Linked DNA regions of Homo sapiens: regions 1, 2, 4, 5, 6 and 7 are each linked to region 3. Evidence: promoter capture Hi-C in 16 types of primary human blood cells and fetal thymus (Javierre and others, 2016). All regions are on one chromosome and are shown on one strand. Each heading gives the region's core, a stretch centred on a gene start or on the middle of the fragment in contact. The rest is flanking DNA. Distances are from core to core; before and after follow the strand shown.

Evidence for each region. The method cuts DNA at HindIII sites, captures the fragments that hold promoters and counts their contacts. A CHiCAGO score of 5 or more calls a contact.
Region 1: a fragment that was not itself captured here is called in contact with the fragment with the promoter of EDN1 in region 3 in 1 of 17 cell types (neutrophils); the score reaches 5.2 in neutrophils.
Region 2: a fragment that was not itself captured here is called in contact with the fragment with the promoter of EDN1 in region 3 in 1 of 17 cell types (neutrophils); the score reaches 5.1 in neutrophils.
Region 4: a contact is called between a fragment that was not itself captured here and the fragment with the promoter of EDN1 in region 3, in 4 of 17 cell types (M1 macrophages, M0 macrophages, M2 macrophages and 1 more). The highest score is 8.3, in M1 macrophages.
Region 5: a contact is called between a fragment that was not itself captured here and the fragment with the promoter of EDN1 in region 3, in 1 of 17 cell types (endothelial precursors). The highest score is 5.9, in endothelial precursors.
Region 6: a fragment that was not itself captured here is called in contact with the fragment with the promoter of EDN1 in region 3 in 1 of 17 cell types (total CD8 T cells); the score reaches 5.1 in total CD8 T cells.
Region 7: a contact is called between a fragment that was not itself captured here and the fragment with the promoter of EDN1 in region 3, in 1 of 17 cell types (M2 macrophages). The highest score is 5.2, in M2 macrophages.

What each region holds. Positions count from the first base shown.
Region 1 is chr6:11,924,454-11,928,012 of GRCh38, reverse strand. No RefSeq gene overlaps it. Among named protein-coding and RNA genes, the nearest start is that of HIVEP1, 86 kb to the left of the region's middle. The HindIII fragment of the contact is 9,888 bases long and covers 1-3,559 here.
Region 2 is chr6:11,979,870-11,983,529 of GRCh38, reverse strand. No RefSeq gene overlaps it. Among named protein-coding and RNA genes, the nearest start is that of HIVEP1, 31 kb to the left of the region's middle. The HindIII fragment of the contact is 4,383 bases long and covers 1-3,660 here.
Region 3 is chr6:12,289,023-12,292,780 of GRCh38, reverse strand. It overlaps EDN1 (endothelin 1), which reads right to left and starts at 2,420. Exons shown (of 5, transcript NM_001955.5): 1 at 2,088-2,420; 2 at 272-440. The coding sequence starts at 2,151. RefSeq lists enhancers at 2,488-2,557, 2,568-2,667. The HindIII fragment of the contact is 4,555 bases long and covers 819-3,758 here.
Region 4 is chr6:12,619,430-12,623,063 of GRCh38, reverse strand. No RefSeq gene overlaps it. Among named protein-coding and RNA genes, the nearest start is that of LINC02530, 36 kb to the right of the region's middle. The HindIII fragment of the contact is 2,828 bases long and covers 354-3,181 here.
Region 5 is chr6:12,568,086-12,571,899 of GRCh38, reverse strand. No RefSeq gene overlaps it. Among named protein-coding and RNA genes, the nearest start is that of LINC02530, 15 kb to the left of the region's middle. The HindIII fragment of the contact is 663 bases long and covers 2,160-2,822 here.
Region 6 is chr6:11,825,136-11,828,955 of GRCh38, reverse strand. No RefSeq gene overlaps it. Among named protein-coding and RNA genes, the nearest start is that of ADTRP, 48 kb to the right of the region's middle. The HindIII fragment of the contact is 3,411 bases long and covers 1-3,039 here.
Region 7 is chr6:11,802,268-11,806,085 of GRCh38, reverse strand. No RefSeq gene overlaps it. Among named protein-coding and RNA genes, the nearest start is that of ADTRP, 25 kb to the right of the region's middle. The HindIII fragment of the contact is 946 bases long and covers 1,740-2,685 here.

The DNA.
Region 1 (3,559 bases), core at 341-2,840, 360 kb after region 3:
CAATCCTGCCCTTCCTAGTGCTTCTGCCCACACACTCAACACACTTCTCCTCTGCCCTTATTCTATTTCATCATTAGTCTCTGTTCGTCTTTTTCATCCCGTATCAGTGCCTGATCCTAGTTTTTTATTCTCTTCTAAAACACCTCCTCCTGGCCTCACGGTGGGCTAGCTTTCAGGACCTGCGAATGAGCGTGGGCGACGCGGCTAGTGGATTGGCATACATCCTGTAGAAGCATGTGTGTGTGTGGTGTGTGTGGCCTCAGGTTAGAGTGCATCATTTTGGTGGTGCCAATGCAATATGCTTTCCTGCACCCTCCTCCATCCTTGACTTCCAAACAGTAGGCACACAGGTGGCCTTCTGCCACCTGAATTCCAGACATAACTTCCCATTTCCAAAGAGATTTCTTGGGAAAGACCCAGCAAGAAGATGGTGACCGATATAAGCTCCAGTGTGGGACATACAGCTTCCATCTATGTGTGATTTACTCTCTGCCTCATTGTAGCCCCTTGTAAATGTGTAGAAAAGACTAAGCAACCACCATTCCAGATTTTTACATTGCAAGTTGGGGAGTTTATCTGGCGGTTGCCCTGAAGCAACAGAAAGGGAGTCAGTGATTTCTGTGAAGTGAGGGAGGTTACTTTTTCAATTCCAGCAAACATTTTTGCAGAGTAAATATTGTAGGCTAATGAACCTCCTTAAATTCCAACATGTCATGGATTTGTATGGTTGCAAATTAGACTTAGCAGTATGTGGTGCTATAGAAAATCCAACAGCGTACTTAGAGTCTACTCTGTGAGTTAATTGCATGAAAAATCTCTGCAATTATTTTATCAGCCCAGATACATGGAAATGAGTATTTCAGTTCAAATGAATGTAGACAGTAGATAAGAGAGAGAAAAAAGAGGGGATTTCAGAAGATGATGGGGAGTCAAAATGACAACAGAAAATGAGGATGTAGTTAGAACCAGGCTGGGCATCTGATCACTAAAGGATTTTGCCAGTAGCACAACATTTTAAAAAAATTCAGTAGTTTGCACTGAGTCTGGATTATCAGTCACTTCCCAGTTCAGTTTATTGAGCACCCACTATGCATTTCTCTTTCTTTCTTTCTTCTTTCTTTCTTTTTCTTTCTCTTTTTTTTCCTTCCCTTCTTTCCTTCCTTCCTTCCTTTCTCTTTCTTTCTTTTTTTCTCTTTTTCGTTCTTTCCTTTCTTTTTTCCCCTTCCTTCCTTCTTTTTCTTTCTCTCTCTTTCTCTCTGTTTCTCTCTTCCTTCCTCTTTCTCTCTCCCTCTCTTTCTCTCTTTCTTTCTTCTTTTTTTGACAGTCTCATTCTGTTGCCCAGGCTGGAGTGCAGTGGCACTATCTCAGCTCACTGCAACCTCAGCCTCCTGGGTTCAAGCAATTCTCCTGCCTCAGCCTCCCTCTCTCTCTTTCTCTGTCTTTCTCTTGCTCTTTTTTCTCTTCTCTTCTCTTCCTTCCTTCCTTTTCTTTCTTTCTTTTTTTGACAGAGTCTCATTCTGTTGCCCAGGCTAGAGTACACTGGCACTATCTCTGCTCACTGCAACCTCAGCCTCCTGGGTTCAAGCAATTCTCCTGCCTCAGCCTCCCGAGTAGCTGGGATTACAGGCATGCACCACCACACCTGGCTAAGTTTTGTATTTTTAGTAGAGATGGGGGTTTCACCATGTTGGCCAGGCTGGTCTTGAACTCCTGACCTCAAGTGATCTGCCCGCCTTGGCCTCCCAAAGTGCTGCAATTACAAGCGTGAACCACAGCGCCCAGTTGGATTTCATGCAATGCATTATACATGAGACAAAGATGCCCTTGGACGTTGTTCCTGTCCTCAGGGAGTGCAGGTCCAGTAGAGAGGAGGGACAGATGACACAGTACAGTGTGACAGAGCAAGAGGCACAAGAGGGTCAACACATCAGAACATCTCGTGAGCCACGTGTTCTGCGTGGGAGTGAAGGGCAGACCTATGCAGAGGAGCTGGGGAGAAGCAGTGGGTGCAGCGCCACGGGATGACGGCTTAGTGGGCAGCCTAGTGGGGCTTTTACTGTCAGCAATTCAGTGCTGCTGGTGCCTGAAGGAGGCAGCAGTGGAAGCAGTGGACGTTACACGGGGCAAATATCAGCAAGAAGACTGTGGTTGGCAGCCCAGGGGCAGGTGAAGGGTGGGTAGGGCCCCAGCCTGGAGATTCTAGTTTGCATGCCTGGGTGAGCACCTGCAGTGTGAGAGGACAAGGCAGGGAAAAAGGAGGAGAAATAGCGCTGGGGGCGGGGGAGGGGAGTGTGATCATCATTCTGTTGTATTTATTAAGATGTGTGATAAAATAACTCTTGGGAGCTGGCAGGTAGCATCTTCCTGACGTAAAGGTTACCTGAAAACATGCCTGAAAATCAGACATGATAAAATCAAACCACAGGCTTCTATATTAATAGAGAAATATCATGCCAAAAAATTAAATTCTTAAAAAATCCTTAATAATATTACTTTCCTTTTAGATATAATGCTTGATGATATACTTCCAAGCCTGTCATTCTTTTTCGTTGTCTCCATCACAACTGAAAGCAGTCCATCAGGTTAAATCTAGTGAATAAAGAATCATCATTTTTAGCAAGGTTAGCAGTCTTCATCTTTATCTGTGTTGTATCAAGCATATGAAATGAAGTTACATGTCTCTTATCAATAGCATCTGCTTTCATCTGTATTTATTTTTTAATTCATTCATTATTCATACATTCATTCATGGTAAGGAGAACATCTCAGTTTTTTTCCCTCTGACCACTGCCTTTGAGGTATTATTTTATAAAAAAGAAATTATATATTAGAGACACAGGCAACATACCCTATATACCTGATTCCATGTCCCCCCTCTCCTCCCCAGGAATAACCACCATCCTTTAATTTTATATTTTTATTTCCTTTGTATTTTTTTATTTTTATTTTTTTAGACAGAGTCTCCGTCGCCAGGTCACCAGGCTGGAGTTCAGTGGCACGATCTCGGCTCACTGCAACCTCTGCCTCCTGGGTTCAAGTGATTCTCCTGCCTCAGGTTCCCGAGTAGCTGGGACTACAGGCGTGCGCCGCCACGCCCAGCTAATTTTTGTATTTTTAGTAGAGACAGGGCTTTACCATGTTGGCCAGGATGGTCTCAATCTCTTGACTTTGTGATCTGCCTGCCTCGGCCTTTCACAGTGCTGGGATTACAGGCGTGAGCCACCGCACCCGGCCCATTGTACATTTGTAACACTTTAACTGCAAGTCCTTGTGTGCCCCCTCAATACTGTTTTTGTCGCTTTAAATTTTATATAAATGCTATCACACTCAGCTGAGCCTCTGTAACCTACTTTTCATCTTCGGTATTAGATTTCTGATATTTCTCTATAGTAATCCATGTAGTTTATTCGTATTAACTGCTCTATAACATTCCATGATATGAATACACTAAATGTCTTTATATATCTAATTTCAGTATTCATTTCATTTTTTACTATTTAAAAATAGCAAAAATAACTGTAATGAGCATTCTGTCTCCTTGTGCATGTAGGCTAGAATT
Region 2 (3,660 bases), core at 342-2,841, 310 kb after region 3:
AGATTTTGTTGGTTGGTTACACGGAAAAGGCTGACTCATATAATAATCCTTTGATAAATCTCAAGGAAGCCTAAGTGAACAAACTCTAACCACTGGGGAGCACATTAATTCTTTTCTTTTGTCACAATTGAAGAATGAATTAGAATTGTCAAAAGATAGATTATTAGAACTAATTTCATCAGTTGGTAACTTCTCAGCAAATAACCCAGAAGTGGGTAAACACATTGAGCAGCAACAGAATTTCCATTTCTGTCTATTTATATGAACAAGGTTTCTCAGGGCGTACATCTAGAAACATAAAATATATGAACAGAATTGATGTGAGCCCCGTCTCACTCAAATCATGAACAATATTTATCTAGGGGCAAATGAAAATAACCTGACCCCATTAATCTCATTAAGAGCTTTCTTTTTGATAATTTAAAAATTGTTGTTTGATGATTATCTGTGAAAATCTATAATGTAGTTACGTTGTTTTGACTAATTATGTACTACTAACAGTCGCAATGATAGCTCTCTCTGAAAGGCAATTAACACTTAGAGCCTTGTGTTCACAGGTAATTAAAAAATTAATCTTTCAATTTATATGCATATTTTTATCATAGAAAATATTGATGATTAACAGAGTTTCAAAAATAAATATATACTAAATACATTCTTGGGAATGGGGGCTTGAAGTGGAATAGGAATAAAAGTCCGGGAAGAAAAAGGGATAAAGTACAATTTCCCATTGTTAGATAAAATCTGATACATATATTTTTAAGAATGGACAGTGTGGGTGTCAAATTGCTATGGTATTGGAATGTCACTGAGTATGATGGGATTTAAGTTTTATTTTTTTAATGTCTGTGGTTACCATATTCCACAAATTACATCTTTGCAAACTTGTAATTTTTTGATAACAGTTATGAGATGGCCATCTAAAAAAATCAATGAAGAATACATAGAATTTCATTTCCTCTTGCAGGATGTCTGGGATTTAAATTTGAAGAAAAATTTTAAGCTATTTTAATTTGTTTACTGATTTAAGCTATTGGTGAGTTATGTATATGTCCTTTATAGACAGACAAGTGTCCCAAATTAACTGATCATTTCTGTGAAGGTAAATGGCTGTCAGTTGTATCAACCCAGCCAACACTGAAAAAATATTAGCACAAACTGCCACTCAAAGGTAAAAGTGATATGCTTTTACAAGGGAATAGAAAATAATTGGCTTTTTAAACAAACTTCTGCAATGGAGACAGCATTTTGAGAATAATTGGAAATGTTCCCATCATTATGTGATTTTTGTTGCTGAAAACGATGTTTGTCACTTACAAAATTTCTTAAATCTGCCTACTCTAAAAACAGGACCACAAAATATATAACCTGCTTTGTAACCTGTGTACAGTCCCAGTGGTATTTAAACTCATTTGTTAAAAATTTAAAAATTCAACAGCTTCTGACTGACATCAGGAAAAGCAAATATTTTTTAATATTTCAACCATTATCTACATGATTAGTAAATGGGACTGAAAAGAATGCACATGATGACTTAGTAAGACTGACAATGATGCACTTACTTTTTCCAATTTGGACCTATGTGTATTTGTGAGGTATCTTTAGAGCTAGGGTAACTTTTTAAAACGAATACCAAAATAAATTGAATTTAGAAAAATATCTTTGATCACTATGTCACAAATTATTAAACCAAGATTTAAAAAAAATAAAACCTATTTAATGACATAATTCTTACTAAAATATTAATATTAAGACTATTTTAGAGAAGCAACAAGTTTTTTATTTCATGATTGAACTAAATATAAATTATTTTTAAATAGTTTATTTCATCTTTATCTTATCTTTAAAATTCTTCTATTTACAAGAGTGTTTTATACTTTATGTAATCCACTAGTCTAGTAGTAAATACATGCAATTATTAAATAAGTAAATTGGGGTGCCTACTCAAGCATTTTTAACTGATAGGAGGCAAGAACAAAACATTGGGAGCTACTTCTCCATAAAACTTTATGCAACTGAGTGAGAATATCTTGATGAAATAGATTGTCTGCCTGGAATATATAAATAACCAAAATTGGCTCAAAATGTAGAAGATCCACCATGAATAAAATTGAAAAAGATGATAATTATCCCTTCAAATTTGCCAAAACCAGATGATTTTATGGATGTTATTTTAGACTCTGAAATTATAGATTTCTTTTGCAATTTAAAATGTCCCAGAGAATAAAGATGGAAATCTTCCCAGTTTATTTTAACCTCATACCAAAACCTGATAAAATTATCACAATGAAAGAAAACTATAGCTAAATTTCACTTATGATTATAGAGAATTAAAAAATCCTAAATAAAATCACCAACCCAGACGTATTAAAAGAGCAATAAATTATCCCCGTACTAGAGTTTATTCTTGGAATCAAGAAGTATAAAGAAATCTATTAATGTAATAGATACAAATGATTTTTAAAAAGACAGTATCAATAGATATCTTCCAAAAGCACCTAATTTAGTTTAACAACCATGTTTGACAGAGTATTTAAGGAAACTAGAAAGAATATTCCTTCAACATTTCATATATACATCGATAAATACATACATATCAAAATGGACCTCTCTGTTTCTCTCTCAGAGGTATTCCATTGGAAATCATAAATACTTGGTGTAAACAGTTACACTATTTTGTGAATCTTGGCCAATATCATGGGAAAAGCTAAATAAGTTTCAAAATACACAAATAAAGAAGTATCAATGTTTGCAGCTGATTTCTTTAAATAGGCAAGTTCAGTAAAATGGCCATTTACAAATCATACAGACGTTAATTTTAAAACAGTTTTCTAACAACTAATATCAACTGCCTAGACATATACTTAATTAGGAATGCCTAAAATCCATTAGACAGTATTAACATTTTCCGAGGGACATAGACAACTACAAAAAAACGACGCTGCAGATAAGACTTAGTATTGTTAAGATGTCAGTTCTGCTAAATTAATTATAAGTTGTCAGAATTTTAATGAGTTTTTTTTTAAAAAACATGTAACAGTGATTTCAAATTTCAACTAGAAAAATAAACATACTGCAATAATTAAATTTTTGAAAACTAAGAATGAGAAGACATTTGCACTAATGGTTTTCAAAATATATTATCAAAATATAACCAATTAAAACAATGGTACTGGAATAGATAGAACAATGAAACAAAACAAAAATCCTAGGAGGATTTCAAGCATACTTAAGAATTTATGCTAAAGTGACTTTTATTAACAATGAGAAAATATATTACTTAACAATGGTGCTGGAACAGTTGGCCTGCTTTGAAAAAGTAGGACAAATTTTCCACCCTATACCATAATCTAAAATAAATTCCAGATAGATTAAATATTTCTTTCTCTTTCTTTCTTCTTCTTTTTTTTTTTTTTCGCCCAGGTTGGAGCGCAGTGGCGCAATCACAGCTTGCCACAGCCTCAACCTCCTGGGCTCAGATGATCCTCTTTCCTCAGCCTCCCAAGTAGCTGGAACTGCAGGCAGATGCCGCCATGCTTGGCTAATTTTTTAAATTTTTCGTAGAGACAGATTCTCCCTGCTTTGCCCAGGCTGGTCTTGAACTCCCAGCCTCAAGCAATCCTCCTACCTTGGCCTCCCGAAATGCTGGGATTACAGCCA
Region 3 (3,758 bases), core at 1,171-3,670:
TGAAAGTTCCTCATTTGAAACGTGCAGTGGCCTCCTGCTTGTCCCATCATGAGTAGCCTGAGCTACGGGGCCTCAGAAGACCCTCCCCTTGGTTGCTAAGAACGAAGCTGTCGTTATTTTCAGGAATAGAGGGAAACTGTCCCCACTGAGGCACTTGGATGGTGTTAGAAGGACTACCTTCAGAGTCCCTAGAAAAGAAACTCTAAAACTGGGCTCCAGTGGAGCCAGCGCTAATGAATGACTAGGGTTACAATGCCCTCTAGAGACTTACTCGGGAGTGTTGACCCAAATGATGTCCAGGTGGCAGAAGTAGACACACTCTTTATCCATCAGGGACGAGCAGGAGCAGCGCTTGGACCGGCGGAGCCGCCAGGGTGGACTGGGAGTGGGTTTCTCCCCGCCGTTCTCACCCACCGCGCTGAGCTCAGCGCCTAAGACTGCTGGGGAGAGAAAGAGCAGGTCAGTGGGGGATGTCTCCTCAAACGCCGAGAGACATGCTGGATCACAGTAGAGTCAGAGCTAGCAGAGCAGATAAAAGCAGATGAAGCACACAGCCTGCCATCAGCAAGAAACACAGAAAAAAGGGCTCTTTATTTTTTTCCCTCCTTAACATGAGTTCACCTTTTGCCTCCCCCTCATGCCCTTGGCTTATCCACCTTCAGGGAGATTACACAAATGCAGAGGAGATAAACACCTGAAAAGGGACTTCCCCCACCCCTCTTGAAGCAGGCTCAGGGAAATGCTGTGGAATGCTGCCTGTTGAAAATCCGGCTGGCTTCTACAAGGAACTTGGTAGGACAGCACTATCCACTGAAGCTTACTTAACATTGGCACATGACTAAAGACAAGAAATCACAGTTATTCCTAGCTTTGGGGCCACTTCCCCATTCAGGATGACCCTCTCTTTAGGGGGTACCCATCCACTTCACATGCTGTGTAGGGCACAGGGTACCCCAGATGATGTATATCTTTCAAAATTAGGTGGGGAAAATGATTGGAGAGAGAAATTAACTATTCAATATTCAATTCAGGAGGGTAACTCCATAGAAACCAGTGACCTAAGGTGGGGCTGAGAAGCAGGTCAGGGGACTGAAGGTAGGCTGGGGGGATTTTGAATTCCGAATCCCTGGGCATCAGGCTTGTGTGGGATCCACTGCCTCCCCCTTCTCCACTACTGCCTTGCCTCTTCCTCCTAACAATTTAGCCATGCAGCTTATCTGCCCAATTTTGTACATTTCAAATGATCAGACACATTCCAGGATTTTCATTCCCTTGACATCCTTTCTCTTTAGTCAGGGTCACGAAAAGACAAAAAAAGTGCACTGACCCTAAAAACGGGGGGGACCCGGGCAGATGCACACGCACTGCCTAAATCCTTCGGCAGCCAAGAATTATCCTAGCTCCCCTCCCAGCACAGGTGAATAAAGCTGAAAAGAGAGCTCACACTGTTTTGGGTGCCAAAAACCTGCCAAAAGAAACCTAAAGTCAATGATGACAAATTTTAAAGAAAACATCTGCTTCACCCAGAAACCGCCTGCGGGGGGTGGTGGCGGGGGGGGGGGGAGGCGGTAGTTAGTCAACAGACTTTTGCTCTGCAGGTGATTTTACTGAACATACATTGCTTGAACGACTGGATACAATTCCTTGGCTTCAAGCTGGAATGCTTAAATATTTTACACGTTAACACACTATTAAAATAGTGTTTAAATAAGATTTAAGTTCCTATATGGCCTGTGTACCTGTATAAACACATATATTACAAACATACATTTGACTAAATTGTATATGTCCATACTCTTCTCATTTTTTAAAAGCCAAGGAAACACATAATGGAATAATAATAATAAAACGATAAGTTATTTTAATGTCATGTTATAGTCAATTGCACCTAATTGTATTCAATAGAGGAATTTTACATTTTACACTAGAAGACTTAAAGTAGCTTTCAGCAATAATTCTCAGACACTTGCTCTCTAAGCTGCAGTCATAAAAAGAACGGGGAAAAATAGAAGCAAGAAAAGCATGAAGGTGGATAAGAACACACTAACTTGTAATTCCGAGACTTACAAGTCAACGAGCGTGCCTACCTGTTTCTGGAGCTCCTTGGCAAGCCACAAACAGCAGAGAGAAAATCATGAGCAAATAATCCATTCTGAAAAAAAGGGATCAAAAACCTCCCGTTCAAACTGAACCCAAAGGAAAACGAAGAAAAACAGCTTCAGGTCCCTCAAAGCGCTGCGGGTTCCTCAGATCTCAAAGCGATCCTTCAGCCCAAGTGCCCTTTTAACGGGGAGAAAAGGCAGCGCCTGCCAGGAGAGAAGGCAGCGAGCGGAGCGTCTGCAGGCGCACGCGGCGGTGGAGAGCTGGGACTGCAGGAGGCGCAGGACCCGTTCGCCTGGCGCAGATGCAGAGGCGCGTCTGACTTGGACAGCTCTCTGCCGGCTTTTTATATTGAACCCCTATTAGAGTGGGGGTAAACAGCTCCGACTTTATTCCAGCCCCAGACAATGTTATTGTGTTATTAGTCACCAACAGGCAACGTGCAGCCGGAGATAAGGCCAGGCCCGAAAGGAAATCACTGCTAACTTCAGAGGCAGACGCCCGCCGTCTGACAATTCGGGGGCAGGGCTAAGAAAAAGAAAATACCCATTAGAGACCTTTGCTAAACCTGCCCGTGCAGTGCTGGAGTCCGCTTCCCCTTTGCAAGCTGCCAGCCCCGGAGTTCAAGAATCAGAAGAGGGGACTCCAGAAAAAAAGTCATACCATTGGTATGAAAAGTATGAGCCACAGTTTAAATAGATTGTATTGTTGTGTGCGGGGAATTTTTTTTAATTGTTGCTCGCTTCATTTTCCTTTTATGTCTCTCCGATTCTAGTCTCAGTCAAACAAGGGAATGCTCTCCCTCGTCACTGCCCCACTACTGGGGGTCAGACTATTTTGGCAGATCAACGTACTTTTCTCTTCAAGCCCCTTCCTGCGGGTCTTTTTTGCTGAAGTTCTTTGCATCTATCGGAGAAAGATCCGTGAGGGATTGGCAAGAAAGGGAGCTTAAAAATAACATCAGAGCTCGTTTAGGCACATGCCCAGTCTTTTCCCTATCACTGATGAGAAGCCCCGATAAGTTCTTTTGTGTGTCCACACTTCCCCTGCGGAGGAGGCTGATAAACTGATTGAAAAGCAAAGGTGTTTTTCACACAGAACTTAAATCTTAAGATTGGTCGGTGCCACCAATCTTAAGACATGGCGGGAGAAGAACACCAGGGGGAGATGAAGAGCTACAGGGGCTGATGTTTTACTAGGACAAAAAGGAAAACCCTTCTAAATGGCAGAAAAAAACGCAACCTGGCTTGGGGGCCGAGGAGGGTCAAGGAATGTTGCCTAACATAGGAAGGAGGAATGCACCTCAGAATATTCTATTTATTCCCCGCACAAGCAGGGACATATTTTCTGGGACTCTTTTTTTTGGGGGGGTGTCTTCATTTAGGGCAAAAAGGTGTTCTTGTACAAGGTTAAGTGAATATGCAAGGAAGGTGGTGCTGAGAAGGAAATGCCATTCGAACAAGGAATCAGATAATACTTCACATTTAATAATGTGTTTACATTTTCAAAACAATTTCCTGTCTATCTAACCTTGAAATCCCCCCCTGAAGTACACACAGGGCAGTTACTGTACAGGTGACATCATGCCTTAATAAAGAAAGCAAAAGGTGCATGGAACACATTGGCTTTTTCCGCTAGTCCCATTTTTCAGGTTAGAC
Region 4 (3,634 bases), core at 518-3,017, 330 kb before region 3:
CATATGCAGGAGGCAAATTCATCCTCAAATTATTTCTTGGACAGTTTGCCTCTAGTAATTAAGAGGTTAAAATTTTCTCACATTTCCGTTGGAAAGTTTCTTTTTATTTGATTCTCCCAGGTGTGAAATAATTTAATACTAGTCTCTTTCTCCAAGCCTCTCTGCTGGGGTTCTGAGCTCAGTCAGATAATATTTGGAAAGCACTTTGTTCTCAGAAGAAAGGTCACACTTAGAAGGGTTGGTATCATCCACCTGACTGCACCAGGGGCAAATGTTGTCCCTAGCTAAGCTTCTGCCTTCAGATGCTGTATACCAAAAGCATATGTAATAAAGAGAAACTCACTTTTCAAGCTTGAGTACAAAAGAATAAAGCAACTCCTGTGCCTGAGGGAGTCTTGGAAGCCAGGTGAAATAAAGCAGAAAGCAGTGGTTAGTCTTGCAAATCAGTGGAAAAATCATCAGACCACAATATCCATGATAGCCCAGAACCTTGCACTGGGCTTAATCAGGCTCACAAACGACACTCAGTACTCTCTATATGCTGCCTTTGCAAATCGCTTTCTTTTTCTGCTTTCTTGAGCTGGAGATTAAAAGAATCAATAAGACAACTATTTGGTGGCACTTTGGATTTTAATGAACTACACAGTCACAAGGCAATTATATTGCTAAATCATTAATTGCCTTTGAGAGTTCAACAAATGTTTATCACATCTACTATATTTTGATCATTGTTAGTGGAGGAGGTTCTTGAATTACAGTAATGAAAAAGAAGTGACTGAGTTTATATATGAAATACATGAAAGTTAACTGAACCATTTAATGATTTCAATTTTCTTGTAGCCAACTAATATTAACTGCAGTGTGATAAAAGGTTTTTCAATTGACTATTGTTACAACTTAAAATCTATGCACAATACCTGGCGCAGTGTCTGGGACATAGAATGTGTTCAACAAATGTTATCTCCTTCATTTTTGATATTGTTTGGCTCAGTGTCCCCAGCCAAATCTCATCTCTTATAATCCCCATGTGTCAAAGGAGGGACCTGCAGTCCCTACGTGTCGAGGGAAGCAGGTGATTGGGTCATGGGGTGTTTTCCCCCATGCTTTTCTCCTGATAGTGAGTGAGTTCTCATGAGATCTGATGGTTTCATAAGTGTTCGGAAGTTCCTCCTTTTCTCTTCTCTCTCTTGCTGCCTTGTGAAGAAGTTGATTGCTTCCCCCTTTGACTTCTTTTTTTTTATTATTATACTTTAAGTTTTAGGGTACATGTGCACAACGTGCAGGTTAGTTACATATGTATACATGTGCCATGTTGGTGTGCTGCACCCAGTAACTCGTCATTTAACATTAGGTATATCTCCTAATGCTATCCCTCCCCACTCCCCCCGACAACAGGCCCCAGTGTGTGATGTTCCCCTTCCTGTGTCCATCATTCTCAGCAAACTATCACAAGGACAAAAACCAAACACCGCATGTTCTCACTTATAGGTGGGAATTGAACAATGAGAACACATGGAACCCCTTTGACTTCTGCCATGATTGTAAGTTTCCTGAGGCTTCCAAAGCCATCTGGAACTGTGAGTCAATTAAACTTCTTTCCTTTATAAATTACCCAGTGTCAGATATTTCTTTATAGCAGTTTGAAAACGGACTAATACAATTGTCTTCTAAAAAACTGGAAATTTTTGCAATTAACTCCCTGAGTGAATTTTACATTTTGGTATGTCATTCTATCTCTAGTGGCCAGTGCAATTTTCATCATCAAGTAGGTGGTCCATAATGTTTGCAGATGGAGTGAGCCTATCACAGTGTTAAACTGACATTCAGATTATTTCCTAGCAGAGTCTACAACAATGATCTAGTAAATAAGGTAAAGAGCAGGAAATAAAGAAAAATAGATTCAGTTTATTCCACTTCTGAGCCACCTTGCTATTTTTTTGGCCATTTATCTAGACTACTGGTAGTTATTTCATCTCATCATAGTAATTGATGATGTAACTCTAAATTTTCTTTACAATGAACACCAACAAAGGCATATTTTAACAGTTTTATTGAGATATAGGTAGTATGCCATTAAGTTCACACACGGTGTACAATTCAATGGCTTTTAGTATATTTATAGCATGTGAATCTATTGCCACGATCAGTTATAAAACATTTTCCTCAGCCCAAAAGGAAATCACACACCCTTTAGTTTTCACTTCCCCAGCACCTCCTCCCTCCACCCTGCCCATTTCCCCCAGCCAAAGGCATCTATGAATCTACTTTCTGCCTCTTAGAGTTACCTATTCTGGACATCTCATATAAATGAAATCATACAATCTATGGACTTGTGTGCCTGGCTTCTTTCACTTAGCACAATGTTTTCAACATTCATCCATGTGGTAGCATGTATCAGTACTTCGTTCCTTTTTCCTGCTGAATAATATTCCATTGTATATGCATAGCACATGCTGTTTATCCATCCATCAGTGGATGAACATTTGGGCTGTTTCCACTTTTTGGCTTTTATGAATAGTGCTGCTATAAACATTTGTGTAGAAGTTTGTTGTGGATTCATCTTTACTTTCTCACCTAGAACTAGAGGAGCCTATTTTTAAATATAAAAAATATATACTCCTCATATACATTTACTTATCAGAAGAAATGGTGGGAGAATCTTCAACGTAGTGGAAAGAGCATTGAATAGGAGTCTGTAGGAAGACCAGGGCACAGGGTATCCTCTCAGTTCTGGTACTAACCGAACATGTGACCTTGAGCAAGGGGCTTTACCTCTGCCTTCTTGTACATAAGGGAGTTGGGGCCCTCACTTGAAGGTCAGCCTGCAACCTGTGCATTCTGAGAATTTGGTGTAATATAGTGACTCAGAGTTAGTTCTAGTTAAAATTTAAGCCTAAATCCAAAAGCAATATGTCAATTAGGTCAAGGAAATGGACATACATCCAGTTTAAAAAAAAAAACCTGAAGATCCAATAACAAATAAAAATAACCCTCAGTTGACTTTAGGAATAATTAAAGGTTGCACCAGAAAGAAGGAAAAAGTGTATTCTCCATCCTTACATCAATGTCTATTCATAAAAAGAGAACATAGGCTTATTAGGTAGACTCTTTTATACTTTCTAAGAAATGCAAAGAGAAATTGGAGTTGCAAACCTACCTTTTTATAATCTAAGGAAAAGCTTTTACTAATTACCAAGAAGAAAAGGAATACTTTATGAAAACAGTTAAAGATGTAGTACTATTTCTAAAAGGGTACTCTATTCAAGAAAGTTCTTATGCTTTCATGAGAAAATGTTAAAAATTTTTAAATGTCCTTTGCAATTTATCTTTTGTATTTGTGAACACACACACACAGAACTTAAGTAGTCTGTTGTACCTACTGAAGAAAAAACTAGAAATAACAGTGAATATCTGGCATTTTTTTTTACATGTTAGGAGGTAAAAATCAATGCAAATGACATAAAAAATCATAAAATGAATAGAGTAATAAAAGGCTTTAAAAAATTCTGAAATCCAATTAATGTGATCAACATTAAAGGTTTTCCTTTAGCAATCAAAATCCAGTCCATTTAGATTTATTTGAGAAATGTCAACTCTCTCCCTAGTTAATGTTATTTAGGGAAAGAAAAACCAT
Region 5 (3,814 bases), core at 1,242-3,741, 280 kb before region 3:
TATTGAGTTTTGAAAGGGAATCCATTATCAGGAATGGCAGATAATAGCTTAGCACTAAGCATATCCTCTGGAACATGGTACTGCTCATGGGGAGACATTTGGAGCATCTAGATATCACAATACTAAGAGAGTAATAGCATTTACATAAAGCTAAAAATGCACATATCCAATAAAGTAAATTGGTTTTATACATCATGGGCAGAAAAATTAATAATAGATCTTTGAGAGCCCCAGAATCAATTATTGCCTCCTTGAAAAACCAGATTCATTTTGCCATTATTAAGAGGCAGATGATATGGGACTAGAAGGTAGGAACTTTCAATCAGAACATTGGCTATCTTCCAACATTTAGTACCATGTTTTAAATAATTATGTGCTTATATGATAATTTCTTGAATTGTATTTATATTTAATTTTATTCTTATTTATTTTTATTTTATTTTTTATATTTTATTTTATTATAAGGATCTCCCTCTGTTGCCCAGGCTGGGGTCCAGTGGTGTAATCTCATTTCACTGCAACCTTGACCTCCTGGGCTCAAGTGATCCTCCCACCTCAGTCACTCGAGTAGCTGGGATTACAGGCACATGCCACCACCCTAGGCTAATTTTGTTTAATTTTTTGTAGAGATAGTTCTCACTATGTTGCCCAGCCTAGTCTCTAACTCCTGGCCTTAAGTGATTCTCCCACCTTGGCCTCCCAAAATGCTGGAATTACAGGCATAAGCCTCCGCGCCCAGCATTTCTCAATTTTAAAGTTGTTAATTATTTATTGACATTTTGCTCAGAAAATGAGTGCTTAACATTCTTACATGCTTCTTCATTCCTACCCTAATTATTAATAATTGAATCATGTAGGATACTATGATTTCGTTTCCCTTTTTGTATAGCTGATCATTTTTCCTGTAGTCAATTATTGCTCTGATTTTTAGTTTGCTTGGTTTTCTATGCAGCTAACACAAATTCATCCTTTAACTCACCAATAATCAGTAAAACTCCCTTTCATGTAGTTAAATACATCAGTTAAACCTATCAGTTTCATCTTTTTCCTGAAGTCAATATTCCAGAACCTTCCTCCTCCTGCTCTCACACGAGTTGATTGCCCTCCAGGCCTGCTACACAATATCCTCTTGGAGCAAGCATTTCTTCTCTTCCACTAGGGAATTTCTTTCATTTCTCTCATGTGTTAGATTGCCTGTTACCTGGATCCCACATCTTCCTCTTTCCTGGTGTACTTACTCCTTTGAAAGCTCCTTTAATTAATTTCTGGGAATCCTTCCAGAATGTTCAGCCTAGAGCAGGACTTGGCAAACTGCAGCTTGCAGCACTGATTCATGGCATGTTTTATATAACCCTTGAATTAAAAATGGTTTTTATATTTTTAAGGGGTTGTTAAAAATCAAAAACAAAAATAAAAACAAACAAAAGCAGAATAATATGTGACAGAGGTTGTATGTGACCCATAAAGCCTGAAAAATTTATGATTTTTTTCCTTTACAGAAAATGTTTGCCAACTGCTGGCCTTGAGTCTGCTCTTCAACCCTAGCAGAGATTTTATAAAGATGAATACCCTACACCAAATCCTTTTCTTTGTAAATTAGACTGATTTACATTAGCTACACTGATGTGCCTAGGGTTTTTTCTTTCTTTTTATGATTTTAAATTAATGATTTACTGTCATAAAAGGCTAGTTTTCTATTAAAAGTTTTCTGGAGTCAATTTTGATAACATAGTTTTTTAAAAATGTGTCTTTTTGTCTTGATCCATTCTGCCATGATGCTGTCAATTTTATTAGCATTTATACAGAATAATAATGGCTCTGATAATTTCTCTAATTCATTTTTGCCTTCTATTTTAGTAATTTCAAATTCAGCTTTATCATTTCATTCTTCTCCTTTCTTCCTTGCTGTTCTTTTTTAACTTCCTAATTTGGTTGCTATTTAAATTTTAGCTTTAAAAACTTTCTAATGTAAAGATTTCAGCTCTGTCTCCTAAGCATTGATTTTTTTCAGTGTCTCATGTAATGACATGTTTTTGATGTTGAATCATTCTTTTGAGTACTCACATTCTATTTCTTTGTAGCCATTACCATTTTCTTAAATGCTATTATTAATCTTTTTATTTGTTTAGTTAATGTCTTTCCCCATTAAAATGTAAGCTTCTTAAGAGCAATTTTCTCACCTGCCTTGCTCACTGATACATGCAGAGGCCGCAGAACCCAGTAGACCCTCTAAGATATACAGGAATGATGAGCAATTGCTCTCTTTTCCTTCAAGAGCCAGTCACAATTACTTTCAGATGCTTTTTTTTTTTTTTTTTTTTTTCAGACAGAGTTTCGCTTTTGTCACCCAGGCTGGAGTGCAATGGCGGGATCTCTGCTTACTGCAACCTCCGTCTCCTGAGTTCAAGCAATTCTTCTGCCTCAGCCTCCTGAGTAGCTGGGATTACAGGCACACCATACCCAGCTAATGTTTGTAGTTTTAGTAGAGACAGGGTTTCACCACGTTGGCCACGCTGGTCTTGAACTCCTGACCTCAGGTGATCTGCCTGCCTCGGCCTCCCAAAGTGCTGGGATTACAGGCATACACCACCGCGCCTGGACTCTTTCAGATGTTTTATTCACGTTGAGACATTAATCTATAAATGAGGATAAATTATTACATCAAATTTCCTTTCACTGGGGAGAAGATTAAATACAGTAAAGTGTAGTTACTACAATATGTATTATAATATATAATAGAGGACATATTATTAACTATAGGGCAGCAAACAAGTTCTGATTTTTAAATTCTGCCATAACAATAGAATGTGTAGAAAGAAGCTTAGCGAGGCAATGTATATAGTGGACTAGAAATGTAGTTTGGATTTACTTATTCTGACTTTAGGTGAGTTACTTCATTGCTATGCTTCAGTTGGCAATGGTAACAATAATTATAACCTGCACGTTAGGAATTTTATTAAATTAAATAAGAAATCATTTTAATAGACACCTGATTCAAAATGTCAGTTCCAATTACCTTCCATTCCTTAACATGGTTCAGTCTTTGGGAACTGATGAATTCTGAGACTCAGAAGAATTCACTGCTTTAGCTATATTAATAGTTATAAATGGAGTCACAGTAGATACCTGGCTAATAATATCTTCATGTGTTATTGATTTCCGGAGGTATTTACAATCTATAAGAAAGTGCAATGTGAAGATGAATAATTAGATAATTTATTATAAGATTTAGGCTTTGATCATTGAAGAGAAGAAGGACCTAGAGGGGTCAAGACTTATTTCCCAAGGCCTTGGATTGAATTCAGTTTTCTTTGTACCAAAGTGGAAGTGCAAAATTGGGTACCAAACCCACATACGTGCCGGAATGCAATTATAAATTCTTCAGGAAGATGTTTTCTCCCGTTTATCCAATGCCAAATTCAAGACAGGCAAATTTCCTCAATGTCTTCTTCTATAGGGGAGTGTATTTCTAGTTCGTCTTGATATGTCAGTTTCCAGTTTTTAGCACATTATTTGCTATTTCATTCATGTTTAAAAAGCATCCTTTCTTTAAATGTTGATATGTGCACACCAGTGTCAGAGATCACTATTTTATATTTAACAGCAGGTCCCTTGACAATTTAGAGCACAAAAACCTTAGAAAGCTGATCTGAGCCACGTGTAAATGAGGAAAGTATTAGGTCTGCAGGACGACATTCAGTCACATCCTTCCCCATGGCAATGACCTTCCTTTCTTCATCGGCTGCCTGACCAAGGAGATGTAAAATAACAGGATTGCATGGATGGTTTTTGAGAGCATTGTCATCAAGTTTGA
Region 6 (3,820 bases), core at 85-2,584, 460 kb after region 3:
ATTCCAATTGACTGCAATGTGGCATTCAGCAAATATCAAATAGCTGCATGTGTCAGGGGCTTCCTTGTCCTCCACATTGACCTTGGATTAACCCTTCACCTCTTACTCCACAGCTAATTAAATCCTGTGGCAGTTCGGTGAGACATTCTTCGCTGAAATATTTAGTGAGGGTCTTAAATTCCTTCATACTTGTCGCAACCACTATGTCTACCTCCCACAGTACATCTGCTTTAGTGTCACAATATTTTGTCAAAAAACTGCAGGACTGCCATGGTAACATCATAAACCCGTCTCTCGCCCAATTCTTCAAGCAGTTTATAAGAATCCAGCTGTAAAAATTGGCCATAGGCTGCATGAACTGGTTGTTTTATGTGTGGTAGTTAACCTCTTTTCCCTTTTTTCTTCACCACTCCCACTCCAAAACCACTCATTTAAAAATATTTACAAAGTCATTTAACATTTATTTAGCCGTCAAATAGGAAATTGGAGTTGAGCTCAAGTTGACTTTTCTTACTATTATACTGCTTTCTGAGGTCAAAATTGTCACCTTTTTTTTTTCTCTTTGCCATCTGGGTGAGTTCAGCTGAAATCAGAAGTTCATTTTTATCCCTCTTTCATTTCCTCTTTTGTGGAAGTCTTCACTTCTCTAAGTGCCTTTTAAATTCAGTGGTAGCCCCATATACAGAAAACATACATAGGTATTTGTGGGAAAAGGGACAGAGATGGGAGGGACAAATCATTCTAGCACAGGAATCACCTTCATTTTCCTGGATCACATTTAACTGCACTTGAAATAGGTGAAACTGTTCCTTTTACCTTTTTCTTCAAAGAAAAGTCACATAAGGTATCTGTATCCCCATCATTCTTACTGGTTAGAGGTTTTCCCTTTGCACTGATTTGGGCACATATCTGGAAATCCCATTTGTCCCTATCCTAAGGCTTTAGATAAGGTGGGGCGAGGTTCCCTCACACATACTGGGTGAAGCTAACACAAGGGAACTCTGTCACCTAAGGAGAGGGAGATTTCTAAGTTTTGTGGAGTTTTTTTTTTTGGTTTTTGTTTTACCTTCTTTTACTTTTTATTTTTTTATAGAGATGGGGTCTTGCTGTGTTGCCCGGACTGGTCTTGAATTCCTAGACTCAAGTGATCTTCCTGCCTTGGCCTCCCAAAAAGCTGGGATGACAGGCATGAGCCACGGATCCTGGCCCGTTTTGTTCTTAAGTAAAATTAAACTTGTTAGACAAAAAGAAAGAAACAAAAAATCCAAGAAATCAACCAATATCTCCTGGAACTATTTTGAGTTAGAGCCATGGAAAGAATATAAATACATCAGCGCGGACGAGGCTTCAAGATGCCCGACAAGAGGCGCCCAGCACTGGCCTCCTCCACAAAGAACCAAAACCGCGAGTAGAAAAACGCACGTTGAATAGAGCCTGTCGGAGACCACACTAGAATTCAGCAGGAAAGTGACAAGGGACCCTGGGGGCAGGGAAGGAGAGGGCAGCAAAGCAGCCAGGCAGCCAGGATTGGCTGGGGGAGAAGGTAAGTGAGAGGCCCCAGTGGTCCACACAAGCACAGCGGACTCCTACATTCCTAGGCGCAGAAGAGCCCCTTGGCCTTTGGGGGCTCTGAGACTAGTACAGACAGCCATCTGCAGTAGGCATTGTTCCAAAGATGGGTTCACACTGGGTCCTACACACCCCTGGGACCCAAGCAGTGGCAGTGCAGTGGCATTTGGGGAGCCCATCCCCCGCCAGATTACACCCTGCCTTGGGGCCTAACCACCCCCGCACCCCACATGCCTGGAGTACCACTGACATACCCCATATCCACCCGGGGGTGCTACAGAACTACCACAGGATCCTGCAATCCCACCACTGGGTATTTATCGAAAGGAAAGGAAATCAGTACATCAAAGGGATACCTACACCTTGTTTCTTTCTTTCTTTTGTTAGACGGGTCTCACTGTGTCGCCCAGGCTGGCGTTCAGTGGTGCGATCACAGCTCACTGCAGCCTTGAACTCCTGGGCTCAAGTGATCCTCCCTTGTCAGCCTCCTGAGTAGCTGGGGCCACAGAGGCATGTCACTACAACTGGCTATTTTTTTTGTTTTTTGTAGAGATGGAATCTGTCTACGTTGCCCTGGCTGATCTCAAGCATTATCATTATCTATGTTGCTCTGGTCCTGGCCTCAAGCAATCCTCCTGCCTCAGCCCCCAAAGTGCTGGGATTACAGGTATGAGCCTGGCAGAATTTGGATATTTACTAAAGCGCTATTCACAATAGCCAAGATACAGAATCAACCTAAGTGTCCACAGACAGATGAGTGGATAAAGAAAATGTGGTAAATATACACAATGGAGTACCATTCAGCCACAAAAAAAGAATGAAATCCTGTCATTTGCAGCAACATGGGTAGAACCAGAGGTCATTATGTTAAGTGAAATAAACCCGGCACAGAAAGACAAATATCCAATATTCTCACTCACATGTGGGAGCTCTAGAAGTTGATCTCATGGAGGTAGAAATTAGAATGATAGTTACCAGAGGCTGGCAAGGGTGTGTTTTAGGGGGATGAAGAGAGTTTGGTTAATAGATTAAAAATGTATATATATATATATATATATATATTTAGATAAAAGAATAAGTTTCAGTGTTCCATAGCATAATAGGGTGGCTGTAGTTAACAATAATTTATTGTAGATTTCAAAATAGCTAGAAGAGAAGATTTGAAATTGTTACCAACACAAATAAATGATAATGTTTGAGGTGATGGAAATCTTAAATACTGTGATTTGATCGTTACACATTGTATACGTATATAAAAAAGTCACATGTACCCCCCCAAATAGGTACAAATATCATGCATTATTTAAAAATTATGTAAGTCCAGTTATGTTCATTTATATAACATTTAAGAGGTTAGATGTCCTTGAGCACAATTTAGTTGGAGGGTTTGATACAATAATCACTTAGGCTAATTTACCTCAGGACGAACATGGAATGCATATAATTAAATAGTTCCTGGTGAAAGAAGCTTGAATGGCCAGAATTGCATATCTAAATAAAAAATGGAGTTAGGCTGCCTTGGGACAAACATGGGCAGGGTCTGTTCTGAGGTTGGCCAGCTAGCTAAGGCTTATGTCCAAGACGCACAGGAGGGATTCTGATTGTAATGAACAGGGCTGGTCCAGGCACAATCATGACATTGATGAGGTTGAGGAGCTTGTATCTGGGACCCTCCCATCCTCCATTTTCCCCGCCTCTCCACTCACTAGCACTATACTTGATTCCCGGTGTAGCCACTTAACACACCCATTCTTTATGAATGATTGAATTTTACCCCTTTCATTTTTTTTTGAAAAATTTGTATAAATTTAAGAGGTACAAGTGTAGCTTTGTTCCATGGATATATTGTAGTGAAGTCTGAGTTTTTAGTGTCACCATCACTTGAGTGAGGTATACTATATCCATTAAGCAATTTCTCATCCCTCACTCCCCCTCCATCCTCACACCCTTCCCGGATTTTCATTTCTAATTGGTAATGGTAATGCACCATCTCAGGATCTGTATAATTACATCTAACATCAAGAGAGTTATAATATCTTGAAACTGTTCACCATAGCCTAGCAAATGAAATAACTTAGCTCAGACTACAAAAATTCCCCATTGGCAGTGTGTGGCAGCAGCATCAGAGTCCTTAGTCATACAATGACAGAGCCACAGAATAGTTGCAATGGAGATTGCAGTCAACTTTAAAAAACTGTTTTCACGTACTCTGCAGCTTGGAATTTCCCCTCTTGCCCCACCACCTTCATGT
Region 7 (3,818 bases), core at 963-3,462, 490 kb after region 3:
CCAGTGGCTTGCCTGTGAACCACTCCTTCTCTAATGTAGCCTAAACTTTCCCAAGTTTCCAACCACTGAAGTCACTGGTAGATTCACCACCCAATATGGGGCTCCTGCTACTGCAGGCCACTGGTAAGATACAGATAGCATTGCAGACTCAGAGGCTGAGGGATCTCCCTCTGAAGACCTAGATAATGCAAATCCAATGAGACGCAGATGAGAGCAAGCCGGGCTTTGTCCTGCCCTGTGCTGCCTTGGTGCACACACCCACGCCTGGCTACGCCCGACTCACCTATCCAGATGAGCAGCGGCAGCCCCAGGCAGAGGTCATTTGCAATCTTCCACAGCTGTGGAACATTGAATGCCATGAAGTTTAGAAAACGCCCCTTTCTCTCTCTCACCTATTTTCCTTTAGAAGCCTAGGGGTCCAATTGTAATTGAGTTTTTTCTTTACAATCAGGGAGTTTTTTCTTTACAATCTTTACCCTGATACAGAATAAAACGAAGGGTTTTAGCACAGCCCAGCCTGCATGGTTTCCCAGCATCTCAGGTATTTACACATGTGGTGGTGCCTAGTCTTTTGGTGGCGTGATCCAGCAGGGAGTCATGGAGGAGGGGAGAGGACACCTCCCCCGCCCCCATATCCCCACACTATTGGCTGCTCCCCCTGCCACTCAGCAAAGCCTGACAACCCTCTGCTACCCTCGCCACAGCTCCTCTTCACTTGCCAGGGATGAAATCAGCCCACAGGCACCTAGTGTGAACCCAAACGTATCTGAGACAGATCTCAATCCGTTCAGAAAGTTTATTTTGCCAAGTTTAAGGATGCACCCTTGACACAGCCTCAGGAGGTCCTGACATGTTCCCAAGGTAGTCAGGGCACCCACGCCTGGTTTTATACATTTTGGGGAGACATGAAACATCAATCAATATGTGTAAGGTGTACATCGGTTTGGTCCGGAAGGGCGGGACAAGTTGAAGCAGGGGAGGGGGCTTCCAGGGCATAGGTAGCTAAAAGACAAATGGTTGCATTCTTTTGAGTCTCTGATTAGCCTTTCACTGAATACACAATTTACCTGTGAGAGGAGAAGAGAGGAATAATCACTATGCCTTAGTTTGGAAACAACAGGGCAAAGGAAGCCATCAGATATGCATTTGTCTCACTTGGGCAGAGGGATGACTTTGAGGTCCGTCTGTCCTTTGTCCACAAGGAATTTTCTTGTTAGCGAATCATGAAGCAGTTATCTCATTGTAGCTATCTTATTTAGGACGAAGTGGGAGGAAGGTCCCAGCTTGACTTCCCTTTGGCTTACTCATTGTGGGCTCCTGAGATTTATTTTCCTTTCACACTGACAAACACTGAAAACCATCCCAAGACACAAGAAAGGGGAAAATGAGTTTTCCTGGGGGTACATGGAAGCCCCAGAAGGAAGGAGACAGCAGGGCGAAGTGGCAGAGCGGTCCATGACAGTAGGTCAAGGCACTGAAAGTAAACCATCTATATCATGATTTTTTGGAATGTCCTAGCTGTTAGGTCTTCCTATTGAACCAAACTGACAAATCTCAGGGATCCTGGGCTAGAAATCCCATGGATTTGATTTAGAATGATCTCCAGAAAACTGTTCCCTGAGGACTAACAAGATTTCAACCGGCAGCAAATAATAGATTTACACTTGAGGGTATGCCCTTCACGGAATCAGGAAGCTAGAACTGCCCCCCGCTCACATCGTGTGAGTCTCCCTAAAGCTTTGCTGCAGCTCTGAACTTTCGTAACACAGGCCGCAGGCATCATTTCACAATGATCACAGAGCACAATTGTATACCATGTGTTAGACATATAAAATATGGTTAGTGCAAACATGCTCACTAAATTAACTATGGCTTGCCAAATTAATTCCTGTAAGCAAAGAGAAAGAAATTCAATTTTCTAACCAATTATGCTTATTGATTTCTCAAGGTTAGGCCTCAAAGAAAAATGCAGAAAGGGTAAAAATTGCCATAGGACTTTATGAAGAAACTGTATTTGAAATATGATTTTATTTCTACTTCAGCAATAACTGTCATTCACTTTATCTATCAGTAGATCTGGGGTCTCACTTTTAGGAGAAGGTGTATTGTGTGTTCACACTGGGATACAGACAGATCTGGGTATGTTTAGGATCTGAGGAATAGGCTTACAGATTTGGGGTCTTAAGAGCTTTTTAGTAAATAAATTATCCAACTCCTCCCCACAACCCAAATTAAGTAACTCATCTGTAGCAAGTAGCAAAATGTACACCTGGAAGTCTGTCTTGTGATCCCTACATTCTTTCGGTGCCACAGTAATATGTTTACCTTGTGATCATAATTCACACTTGACCTAAATCTCATTGTGAACCAGGAACCAAGATGTCCATTTTAAAACATTCTTTTTTGAGGGGGCACAAATGGCACATTTGTTAACAAGACACGAATTTAGAAATAATTCTTTGGAGGTGTAAGATTGAAAAGGTGTAATTTATAAAGTGTCATTTAATTTATTAAAATATGTGCATTCAAAACAAACTTCCACTTTGAGAGAGACAAAAGGAAAACCAATTCTGTTTAGCACCTTTGGTAGAAACCCGGCCTCATGTTTGCACACACCCACTCCCGCACCCACACACCCTCCTTCCATTGCCCTATCCCTACCAATTCTGTGACAAAGGTCAAGCTTTTGAGCATGGTCACCATGTAATAAAGTCTGGACTATTTCACCCAATGCCAAGGTTGCTTTGGCAACCACCATTCTCATGCCTCCAATATTTCCTGGGGTATAAGCACAGCCTGACCCCAGACGGCCTGTGTGGGTGGTGCTGTGGGGGAGGGGTCTTATTACAAATGGTGATTATTGTCCCCTCCGCAGACCTATTAAATCAGAATCTCTTGGGGAGGGATCAGAAATCTCATTTTGTGTTTTTTCTTGTTGTTGTTATTGTTGAGACAGAGTCTTGCTCTTTCACCCAGGCTGGAGTGCTGTGGTGTTATCTCAGCTCACTGCAGTTTCAAGCTCCTGGGCTCAAGTGATCTTACCTCAGCCTTCTGAGTAGCTGGGACTCCAGGTATGTACCACCATGCTCGGCTAATTTTAAAAATTAATTTTTTTTTTTTTTTTTTGCAAAGATGGGATCTCACTATATTGCTCAGGCTGGTCTTAAACTCCCATCCTCAAGTGATCCTCCTGCCTCGGTCTCCAAAGTGCTGGGATTATAGGTGTGAGCCACCGCACCTGGCTAAGAATCCTGTTTTTTTTTTTAACAAGTTCTCTAAGTAATTCTTCTGCACAATAATGTTTGGTAACCACTTCCAGAAGATTGCAAATAAATTGATTTGTAAAGGAACTGGACCCAAGGCCTTGACTTCAGGCTCATATTTATCTCAGCAACTGGGCTGTAGTCTCTACCACCATCCTCCAACAGCCCAATGACAAGAAAAAGAAATGCTCAAAAATGTGATTAAATGGGAAGCAACAGAATAGGTGAAAGAAAAATCCGAGTAACAAATGCTAGACTGCTGAAAGTGGAATGGTTTTTAACTCTCCTCAGTGACTCAAAGACATCCAAGCCATCATTACTTGCAGAGCCGTTCTGGTTTGGGTAACCAGTAGTATTGACATACATATATACTTTAATGTGGATGCTGACCTAAGTCAAATGAACCATGAGAACAGCAAAATGAAGCAAAATAAAAAGTAACAGTGGGATTCTTCTTCAAATAAATATGCCTTATTAATGTATGGATTGTCAGTAATTACCAATAAATATATAAATATAGGGGACACAGCTCGAAATTTTTTACTGATAAGGGTG